Linked DNA regions of Homo sapiens: regions 1 and 2 are each linked to region 3. The links are contacts of gene promoters, found by promoter capture Hi-C in blood cells and fetal thymus (Javierre and others, 2016). All regions are on one chromosome and are shown on one strand. The core of a region is centred on a gene start or on the middle of the fragment in contact, and the rest is flanking DNA. Distances in the headings are between cores, read along the strand shown.

What was found. The method cuts DNA at HindIII sites, captures the fragments that hold promoters and counts their contacts. A CHiCAGO score of 5 or more calls a contact.
Region 1: a contact is called between a fragment that was not itself captured here and the fragment with the promoter of IFNW1 in region 3, in 1 of 17 cell types (naive CD4 T cells). The highest score is 5.3, in naive CD4 T cells.
Region 2: a fragment that was not itself captured here is called in contact with the fragment with the promoter of IFNW1 in region 3 in 6 of 17 cell types (activated CD4 T cells, total CD4 T cells, naive CD4 T cells and 3 more); the score reaches 10.6 in activated CD4 T cells.

What each region holds. Positions count from the first base shown.
Region 1 is chr9:19,936,889-19,940,867 of GRCh38, forward strand. It overlaps a transcript of SLC24A2 not described here. Among named protein-coding and RNA genes, the nearest start is that of SLC24A2, 150 kb to the left of the region's middle. The HindIII fragment of the contact is 5,442 bases long and covers 1-3,979 here.
Region 2 is chr9:19,911,239-19,915,093 of GRCh38, forward strand. It overlaps a transcript of SLC24A2 not described here. Among named protein-coding and RNA genes, the nearest start is that of SLC24A2, 120 kb to the left of the region's middle. The HindIII fragment of the contact is 3,374 bases long and covers 792-3,855 here.
Region 3 is chr9:21,140,369-21,144,145 of GRCh38, forward strand. IFNW1 (interferon omega 1) reads right to left here and starts at 1,464. Exons shown (of 1, transcript NM_002177.3): 1 at 264-1,464. The coding sequence starts at 1,202. The coding sequence ends at 615. RefSeq lists enhancers at 1,139-1,278, 1,369-1,418. The HindIII fragment of the contact is 3,128 bases long and covers 1-2,974 here.

The sequences.
Region 1 (3,979 bases), core at 500-2,999, 1.2 Mb before region 3:
ATCTGGGGAGTGGGATGGGGTGGAGGCAGAGAGCAGAGAGGTAGAGGCTGCTGCTTTTCAGACCTTAAATTCTTCTGTCCTCACTCGTATGTTCCCACACATATGTATTACTTTAGTGGATTTTTTTTAAGCAAAAACCAAAAAGTCAGGAGAAAGGAAAATATGGTAGGAACATAAAATTGAGTCAAGAATTAGGCCTAAAAACACATACCGCATTGATTCACACATTTGCTGCAGCTGGGCCACACATTTGGCTCTGAGCTGTGCCAGAGCAATTATAGAGGGACCCCTGGTCAGTCCATGTATAATATCCACAAGATGAAAACAGACCAACTGGGAGAATTTTGGCTGCTCCTTGCTATTAAAATATCAGAATGAAATTTCTTCCAGGGGTCTTCCTAAAGAAGGCATGGAGAGATGATTAACATCCTCAACAATGTCTTTGAAATGTACAGAATAATGGTTTTCACGTTTTGTTTTTTCCCTTAGAATTCTCAACCCAGATTGCTGGTGTCACACTCAAGTGCAACTTAGATAAATAATTCCATGAGAACTCAGCTCCTTGCTTGATATAGGGATAGATTTTGGAATATCTTGAAAGATACATGCAGTTTTGTACTAGCAGAATTGTTACTTTTAACTTTAAAAATTTCAAATAGAATTTCTCTCAACTGAGCTATTGAAAATTATCAGCTGAAAATGAGTTTAAAACTATACTTTCTAATGAACACCCGGATTACAGCTAATCAATGTTGTCTGTTGAAATATATCTATGTATCCTAATAATTGAGAGACAGATATTTTGTTTATGATATTTGTGTCTATGCAAACGAAGTGCTATTATGAACACAACTATATTTACATATACACATTTCCTGTGCTTCTCTCTGGATAGCAAAGCTGTGTTCTAATGCTGTCTTCAGGATGTATATGGTTGGGGACAGCCTTATAGGTGAAATGTTGTATTTCTGGTACTTCAGCAATTAGATAATATTGCACAGAAAGTCAAATATAACTTTTACACTAACAATTGTGGTTTGCTTATTACAAAAGCAATATGTTTATTAAAAATGAAAATACATGAAAAGAAGAAAACAGAACAGTATAAAAACAGTACAGAATAGAAATAACAATATTGCATTTATTAATAGCATTAACTATTAGTGAGTCTTTTCTATACTGTATAGATTAAAAATGAAATAATATTTTATAGTACTCTTATAGACTGTGATTTCCTTTAATACCAGTGTCTGTCTTCCCATACCATTAGATATTCTTGCAGAAAATCTTTTTAAAAGTCTGTATAACCCATCATTTTGGTGTATATTTAGGTTATCTAGCCAGTTGCCCACTGTTGGACATTCATTTCAAAAAACATGATATAGAAACTCAATATTAAAGGTTGAATTGATAGGTTCTTTAATATACTATTTCCCAAAAGAAAAGTCTGAGAAAACTGAAAGATATTCTAAACTGGATAGACATTTTTTACAGCCCCATTTAACTTACATGGACAATAGTTTTAACTACCATTTGTCTTCCCAATACTGTGACACTTCCTTTCAGTTTGAAAGAGAAATTTCATGGTGATTAATAGAGGTATGGTTTATTAAAATGTTTAAATTAAAAAGTTGACTATGGACTCTGGAATAGTCTCCTTCTGCTTCACATTTCTAATGTTATTAGTTAGGTAAGACACTAACACTCACCTAGACCTATAAGTCTCCAGGTCTCTTTTCCTATTTTAACACTTCAATGACTAGGAAATATGACTTCCTCTGTTGTTAACCCTCTAGTGATTCTTTAATTGCTCCATGGATCCTTGGTGTTTTGTAAACTGAGATGACTGAGATGTTTTATTGCTACAATTTAATAATGTATATATTTTCCAAGTTTCCAGAAAAAAAGTTGCTAGATAGAATTTTCTCATTTTAACATTTTGCTCCGCACATTTTACTTAAAACTTTGGCATCCGCTACAGCTTGTCTTTTTGAGACTATGTACAAAACAAAACAAACAAACAAACAAAAAACAAAGAAATCAACAAAACCCAAAACTAAAAATATCTTACAAATAGGCAATAAACAAATGGTAATGGAGAATGGAAAAACTCATAAGGTATCTGTTGTTTAGTCCCACTAACTTTATTTTCATGTCCGTAACTATTATGGCAGATCACACAGATAAATATGTAGGTGATATCTGTCTTCTTCTAGTAGTCTTGTTTCTGGATTCTAGTGTACATAACAGAATGGAGGATATAAGCATATCCTGGTGTTCTGGAATGAGTATAGTGCCACCTAAGTGTTTGGCCCTCTAAACCTGAGAACAAAGCAGTTAGGTTTTGAGAAATGTGTCCTTAGGTGATTTCATCATTGTGTGAACATCATGGAGTATACTTATACAAACCTAGATGGTATAGCTACTTACACGCCTAGGCTATATGGTATATAGCCTATTGCTCCTAGGCTATGAATCTGTACAGCATGTTACTGTAGGAATACTGTAGGCAATTGTAACACAATGATGAGTATTTGGATTCTAAACATATTTAAACATAGAAAAGGTACAGTAGAAATATGGCAGAGAAGATTAAAAAATGGCACAGCTGTACAGGGCGCTTACCACGCCTGGAGCTTGCAGGACTGGAAGGTGCTCTGGGTGAGTCAGTGAGTGAGTAGTGAGTGAATGTGAAGGCCTAGGACATTACTGTAAACAACGGTAGACTTTATAAATACTGTCAACTTAGGCTACACTAAATTTGTAAAAAATAAAGTAATTGCACTATGACATTTCCACAGCTATACTATCACTAGGGGATGGGAATTTTTCAGCTTCGTTATAATCTTAGGGGCCCACTGTCCTACAAGTGGTCTGTTGTTGACCAAAATGTCATCATGCAGCACGTGACTATAATGCTGTAGGTAGAAATAAACTGCCAGCCCCTAGTGAATTACGGCTATGCTAAAATCATGACTTCTGCCAAATCCCTTCTCCAGAAATCCCTGGCACACTCAGATAAAATGCTCCAACTCACACAGTGTGTTTTGCAGTAGCACATGCTTCCAAGTTTTTCTCCACCCCAGGCTTTAACAATAGCACTTCAACTGATTGAACACTTCTCTGTACCAGCTATCTCACTTCTCACGACACCCTTGGGGGTTTGAGGGGATGCTCCCATTCCCATCGCACCCATGGGGAAGTGAAAGTGCAGAGTAAAAAACTCATCAAAGGCTGCAAAGCTGTAAGTGGCACCGCTTGCATTGTTTTCCTTTAGGGTTTTTCTCTGGGACACTCCCAGCTCCTGTCTGAACATAGTAGTTAAGAGGCATCTGGTAGCTCTTGAATATGGGATTGTGGAACTAATAATCCAAACAGGGGAACAGAAGAGGCTTTTGCCAACTGTTCCATATAAGCCTTGCCACATGACTTTTGTACAGAATAGTCAGGGGGTACTTTTATAAACAAGGCTAGGTGAACATTTGAAGCCTTACTGTACTTCATACATTGGCCTAGAGGTGGGCTCCCTTCCTAGCACCTATTTACTCTGTGACCTTAGGTAAATTGTATGTTCTTATTGAGTGTCAACTTCCTCGTGTAGAATTTTAGGGGTTGGACTACATGAGTGCTCATGTCTCTCCCAAATTCAACCTTTTCTGACACTGTAACCCTCACCCCTACCCCCAACCCCAAAAGGCTTGTGGAATCTGTTTTCCTACTGTGCTTTCCACACGTGTCTCTGTGGGCTTACTATGTCAGTGAGTTTATAGATTCAGCTCTGAGGATTGCTGACAAAGGGCCATTTGTTGCACTCACACTCAAGGTGAGAAGTTACAAAAAGGTGATTTTATATGGGATGGGCTTCTGGCCTACAATGCCTGCTCCCAAGGGTGCCCTCTCAATGCACAGTTCAAAGCACTGCTGAATGCACATGCTGATTTCAGTGTGGCTTTTTGTAAAGCCAAACGCCACTGACAAC
Region 2 (3,855 bases), core at 1,229-3,728, 1.2 Mb before region 3:
ACATGAACTCATCGTTTTTTATGGCTGCATAGTATTCCATGGTGTCTATGTGCCACATTTTCTTAATCCAGTCTATCGTTGTTGGACATTTGGGTTGGTTCCAAGTCTTTGCTATAGTGAATAGTGCCGCAATAAACATACGTGTGCATGTGTCTTTATAGCAGCATGATTTATAGTCCTTTGGGTATATACCCAGTAATGGGATGCCTGGGTCAAATGGTATTTCTAGTTCTAGATCCCTGAGGAATTGCCACACTGTGGAAGTCAGTGAGGTCCTTTAAAAAAGTGATTGGCAGATGGTTGGTGCTGAACTGTTGTGGAATCAGGCATCAGATAAGCCTTGATCTGAGCCTTGATCTTCTTCCATGATTGAGTGAGATTCCCTGAGCTACTGATATGGCGTCCAGTCTCAACTGTGGTTTTATCCTAAAGTGTCATTGAATATCCAGCTTCTCTTCCTAGCAATGAGACATTAATGGCTCTATCTTAGCTTTCCACTCAGCCTGTCCTATGGTAGGAACTCCACTTGACCTGTGGTTATGGGAGACACATCTATGATGCACCATCGCTATCACTTGTCTAGATCTTATCTCAGCACACTGGGTTCTCTTTCCATTTACACTAAAATCAGACATTTAAGGGTGAACTTGGGGGTTAAACAAACATATGTGGATACATTTGAGAAACAGACCATCAGCATTACATGCCATTGAGCCTTTTAGTGTCTGAGACCTAAGGTTTTATTTGTTTACTCACCCAATCATTTTATATAAATGTATATTTATATTTTAAGCTTTCTTTTAAAGCCACTGCATAGCTTCACTATGACCAGATAATGAGAATTCTTGACAATGGAGTGTCGTGGAGGTATTCAAACCCCCGGGGTGGGGACCGAGGCCAGCAGTTAGATGTTAGGCAAACTCTTCTGCTGAGACACATGCTTCCCCTACACAAACACAGATACAAATGTCAGAGCTGGAAAGGAGACCTTAGGGATCATCCTGGTGAGCTATCATTTTAGAGATGCAGATACTGAGCCTATTAAAATTTTAAGTCAGTGCCTTCAGATGTTATCCCATGGATAGTGATGGGTAGCATTTGAATGTCCTGGAAAAATGGTTACAAATAGTGTATGAATTCCCTGTTCCTATCCCATTGGCAGGGATTTAAATCAGGTATAGGTTGGAAATCATCGGTTTCAGTAATTTGTCAAGTTATTGGCTCACAGTCAGGATTAGAACATGGGTTCTCTGCTCTCTACAGTACAACAGATGGCCTTCCTCCATCTATCTAACCATAAACAATTCTATCTTTTTTCTACTGAATGCACGTGGGACCCTCACTTGGTCACACATTTCTTGCTATTCCTCCCAGATTTGTCCTATTCACAAATTGGATAAATAAATCATCTTAGTTTTCACATCGTTTATAAAATGTTCACAAAGACAAAACAACACTGGAACCTCCCAGCTCACATTAGAACCTCCAGTGGTGGATACTATCCCATCAACCTGCATCCCTTTGGGATTCTTCATTTGCCTAATTGATAATTTTTCCTTTTGAACTCAATCCAACCCTTATTTCTCTATTTTGTCCCAAAATGATGTTATGAAAGATGTCAAATGCCTGGTTGACATACAGAAACATTATATCCAACTTTTCCCTCAACTTACAGGCTTGTGAAACTATCAACAAATCATTTGTAAAAATTTAAATGAACCTGATCTCCATTTATTAATATTCTCTCCTTCTTCAAAGCCTATGACTCAGGTCTCCTGGTTTTCTTTATATCTCTCTGACAATTACCTCTCTAATTCATTGGCTATTTCTCTATTTTTCTTAGCCCAGTTTCTATCACTTCTACATTCTCACATCATTTTACATACTCTTCCCAGGTCGTCTCATCTAAATTGAAGAATTCAACCACTATCTATTTGCTAATGACTCCAAGATCTATGACCAGTTTTTCCAAAATATAGGCCCCATATTCTCATCTACACCTGAATGTTTGGCTGCAGGCTTATACCAGAGATACCAGTCATTTTTTTGTTTGCCAACATTCCCTTCTTAGAGACGTGCCCACATCCCATAAAGAGTAGTCACATAAATCACTCTGACTTCATCCCTCAGGCCATAGCTGACTTGGCCAGAGTGGATATCTCATCCAAGCTAGTCCAGTCAGATTCCCTTGTGTGGGAATCAATCACCTCCATCTGTAAGGTGATTTAGGGCTTGGAATTGTGTCCTGAGGATAAATAAGCAGAGAAAGCCAGTATACAGGGAGAATCCAGAGATTAGGGCAGACATGCAAAGGGAAGCAAAGCAAAGGACATCGTGATTTCAGAAAGATAGAGATGGAGTAGGTGGCTGCCTGAGAATTTTCCAGTGCCAGCAAGCCTATGCTTTATTGCTTTCATTGTATTTCATGAGATTAACCATCCTTTATCAAATACAATTTGAAAACCTACTTTATGCCAGGAACTTTGCTAGGTATAAGAGAAATTTTGTTGAATAAGGAAACCATGGTCTATGACTCCACAAATCTACATTTGAATGCCTTCTCACAGTAAATTCTTGTTTCCTTGCATTTACTTGAGTGTGTTTCTTGCATTCCATCAATCCATACTTAATTCTTTTTTTTCTTTTTTTAATTTTTGTTTTCCTGGGTAAGCACTTAATTCTTACTGTATCCCAAACCAACCTCATCTTCCTCACTATGCCAGCTCCTTCTCCAAAAAACCTACAATCTTGATCAGCGGTGGTATGCCCAATCTTGATTAACTGGGTAGTATGCCCAGTTTTCAAAACCAGAAACCTCACAGTTGCCCTTTGTTCCTCCTCTGCTTCACTACATATCTAGTCCGTTACCAAATACTTTGGGTTCTACCTCAAAATGCGCTTCCTTTCAGATCTTACTTTTTGTCCTTACTTTTATCTTGTCCAGGGTTAGATTCTTGACACCTGCCACTTGAGTGTTTCAACCACCTCCTGTCAGATCTACCTGTTGAATATCTCCCTACACAGCTCATCCTCCATGATGTCATCAGACCTCTTCCTAGGATCCATACTGGATCTTGACACATGCCTCCTAAACATGTCCACTGGCTTTCCATTATCACGAAAATAAAACCCATACACCTTATACAAAAGACCCTACTTGATCTGGTCCAAATTCCTCTCAATTGCTCTCTCCCACAACTTGTATTCCAGTGATTTCCAGTCACTAAACATGTAGCATTTTCTGAGTTTGCTCATTTTTAATAATATACATTTCCTTCTGTCTAAAAAGGCTATCCTCAGGTCTTGGCCTGGCAAAGTCATCTTTTAAGACCAGCTCAAATATCATCTATTCTGAGCCAGGCAGAGGACATGTTCTCTTAAGGCATTCTGTTCACCCCTCTGGCATAATCTAGCCGAGAGTGACAAGAGATTACGATAATAATCCCTTATGACCTTGCCTTGTTGTTAACAAAGTTATCTCGTTTGAACCATATAATGACTCAGATGAGGCAAGAAGGCATCCCATTTCATAGATGAGAAAATGGGCTCAAGACAGCAAGTATCCTCCCCAGTGTCATGTGGACAGGATGGGATCCAGATTTTGTAGCCAGAATCTGGCCACATAAAAGATCTGAGCTGAGGTGCTTCAGGAGTTCTGCACACATTTGATTTGTATTTTATTTTAAAACATGTATTTTAATAATTTAAAAAAAAGATTGATATAAAAGTCACCATTTTAGCCATTTTAAAGTGTGCAATCTAATAGTTTTTAGTATATTCACAATGTCGTACAACTGTTACCATTAAGTAACTCCAGAATATTCCCATCACTCCCAAAAGAAACCCTATACCTCC
Region 3 (3,777 bases), core at 214-2,713:
AAATAACTTTTTAATTTTTGTGGGTACATAGTAAGTGTATATATTTATTGGTTACATGAGATATTTTGATACAGTCATGCAATGAGTACACCTGCATTGCTTGACATCAATTCCAAAATATGCCACTTTGATACTCACTTTATACATATTATGTAAATGGAATGAATGAATAGGTAAGTGTATATTACCGTCCATTCCTTGATTTGGTTCAGAAAACTAGTGTTTGGATTTTGGTTTTCGAATAAATAACTTCAAGAAGTTTTGTTTGAAAATAATTTAATAAATAACAAAATACAATATTTAACCAAATGGAAAGCTGAACATGTTTTGTTATCTTAATACAATGTAAAGGCAAACATTTGTTATATAAGAATATAAATAGTATAAATATGATAAAATGTAAGAATAAATAAATGAGTAAAAATAAATAACATCTTAGGGACTGATGCCCCTGAACCTAAGTCTTTTTAACATATACTGGCTTAATATACCGACAAAGTATTTGCAGAACTAATTCAGTCAATTCTGTGATTAAAGCCGAAATAAGAGTCTTTTGAATTGACCAGAGTCACATGTGCAAGTGTTATATGGCAAATTAATCAATGAGAATCATTTCAAGATGAGCCCAGGTCTCTATCTTTACTTCTCAGTCTTTCTTGCATGTTTGTTGATAAGAACAAGGATTTCATGATTTCCATTCTGACAACTTCCCAGGCACAGTCGCTGTATTTCTTCTCTTTCAGGTAGACACGGATTCCCTGGAAGTACCTCCTCAAGGTCAGTGCAGGGCTGCTAATTGCCCCAGCAGATTCTCCTTCTCCCACTACCTGCAGCAAGCAGGTCTCCAGGTGTTGCAGTTGCTGATGAAGTCCAGTGTGGAGTTGGTCTAGGAGGGTCATGTTCCAGGCAGCAGAGGAGCGCTCTGTGTGGAAGAGGCTGAAGATCTGCTGCAGCATCTCATGGAGGACAGACATGACATGGGCCTTCTGCAACTGGCTCCCTTTTACCATCTCCTGGGGGAACCTGAAGTCTCTTCTGTCCTTGAGACACAAGAAAGGGGAGATTCTCCTCATTTGGTGCAGAAGCACCAAGGTGTTCCTGCTAAGTAGGCCATGGTTCTGAGGCAGATCACAGCCCAGAGATCCAACAGGGCTATAGCTGGTCATCACTAGGGCTGCCAGTAGAGGGAACAGGAGGGCCATTGGGAAATGAGGATGCTCCTGGCTTTACTGAGCTGGGATATGGCTTAACCTTGGACCCTAGGTTTTCTGAAGACATTGCTTGTATGCATGGCTTTTAATAGGAAACACATGGTTTTCATTTTCTGAACATTTCTCTGTACTTTCAGTTTCTTTTACTGTTTTCATTTGTGTGTTCTCCCTATGACCTTAAGAGGATGACAACAATCTATTAATTTTGCATTAGACTTCAGCTAAACTCCAGTAAACTTCAGCTGTGTCAATACAAATGAATGCTTAATCAAATGAAAAACGTCTGGGTACTAAAGTCATAAGTGTATATACTATATGCATGTAAATAATCAGACACACACTACACTAACAATATATATATTATATATTTATGTATACACACTATAGTGAATATATGTATATATGTGTATATATAATATATATTCATATATATATGAAAAAAATCATTTTCTCTGTTCTAGAAGCAAAATTTTAACCCTTATTCTAGCCTCCATTTTTACCCTCCTTACTTTATGTAGGAAGTCAGGCCCTATAGGTTTCTATATTTGCTTCAGGTTTACCAGATCATCTGCAGCAAATAAGCTCTTTAGAACCAAGAACAGCATTTTGCTGTTGTTTGTTTGTTTTTTAGAGATGGGGTCTTAATCCGTCACCCAGGTTGGAGTGTGGTGGCATGATCAGAGGTCACTGCAGCCTTTAACTCCTGGGCTCAAGCAATCTCTGTGCCTCAGCCCCCTGAGTACCTGGGACAACAGGTGTGCACCATCATGCCTGGCTAATTTTTTTGTTGTTGTTGTTGTTAGAGATGAGGTCCCACTATGTTGTTCAGGCTGGTCTCAAACTCCTGGCCTGAAGCTGAGGCCTCCTGCCTCAGCCTCCCAAGTAGTTGGAATTACAGATATGAGCCAAAAACGCAGTTTTGTTTGCTGTTTTATTCACAACAGAGGATGATGATGATTAGCGAATGAGCTTCTCTGACATTTTTCTTCCTTCTAGAAAACATTCATGCAGGTCCATGTGGTTACGCTTCACTGGGACCACAAGGTGAAGATTAATATAGACACTGCTTTTTCTTTCCATCATTTGCTTACTGAGGTCAATAGTGCTCCCCTATCTGTCAATATCCCAGCTGGAATCCTGATTCTTTACAAGCGCATATGGATGTAGAGATTCTAATTCGCAGATATTTTACTTTCCCAGCGTCTCCTCACACACAAGGTAGTTATCACATCTAGTAATACCTTTTCCTCTAGAGTAACAAATACTCTCAACCCAAACTCTTCCAGACTCGCTCCCAGGGAGCAGTCTCACAACATCCTGATAACTTCAGAACTCTTTTGGTGAGAGGGTAGTGGTTACTTTGTGAGCAAAGCAACTAACCCTCCAAGACCCTTGCCGGTGCCCCTAGAGTGTTTGTCTGGAGGACCCTGGCTCTCAGTGGCGACCTCCTTTCCTCCTGACCCATGTGTCCAGGTATCAAAAGTTTCGACAGCCCTCAGGTACTGATAGCAAAGGTTTCTTTTGTCTAAGGAAGGTGGAAGGATTACCCAATTATAATCATTTTACCTTCATTAGTCAAATAATTTTCCACCATTTGCTTACTGAGGTCAATAGTGCTCCACTGGCTGTGTCAGTATCCCAGCTCGGAATCCTGACACGGTTTTTATTGTTCAATTCTTTTACGTAAGCTATTGAACATTTGTTATCCTCAGTGTTTCTCAGGTGGGCACAGGGGATCAATGATGATGTTGTCTTTCATTAGAAGCTTATATGTGCCAAATTTTCTAGATCCAGTCTATCGTTGTTGGACATTTGGGTTGGTTCCAAGTCTTTGCTATTGTGAATAGTCCCGCAATAAACATACGTGTGCATGTGTCTTTATAGCAGCATGATTTGTAATCCTTTGGGTATATACCCAGTAATGGGATGGCTGGGTCAAATGGTATTTCTAGTTCTAGATCCCTGAGGAATCGCCACGCTGACTTCCACAATGGTCGAACTAGTTTACAGTCCCACCAACAGTGTAAAAGTGTTCCTGTTTCTCCACATCCTCTCCAGCACCTGTTGTTTCCTGACTTGTTGATGATCGCCATTCTAACTGGTGTGAGATGGTATCTCATTGTGGTTTTGATTTGCATTTCTCTGATGGCCAGTGATGATGAGCATTTTTTCATGTGTCTTTTGGCTGCATAAATGTCTTCTTTTGAGAAGTGTCTGTTCATATCCTTCGCCCACTTTTTGATGGGGTTGTTTGTTTTTTTCTTGTAACTTTGTTTGAGTTCATTGTAGATTCTGGATATTAGCCCTTTGTCATATGAGTAGATTGCAAAAATTTTCTCCCATTCTGTAGGTTGCCTGTTCACTCTGATGGTAGTTTCTTTTGCTGTGCAGAAGCTCTTTAGTTTAATTAGATCCCATTTGTCAATTTTGGCTTTTGTTGCCATTGCTTTTGGTGTTTTAGACATGAAGTCCTTGCCCCTGCCTATGTCCTGAATGGTATTGCCTAGGTTTTCTTCTAGGGTTTTTATGGTTTTAGGTCTAACATTTAAGTCTTTAATCCATCTTG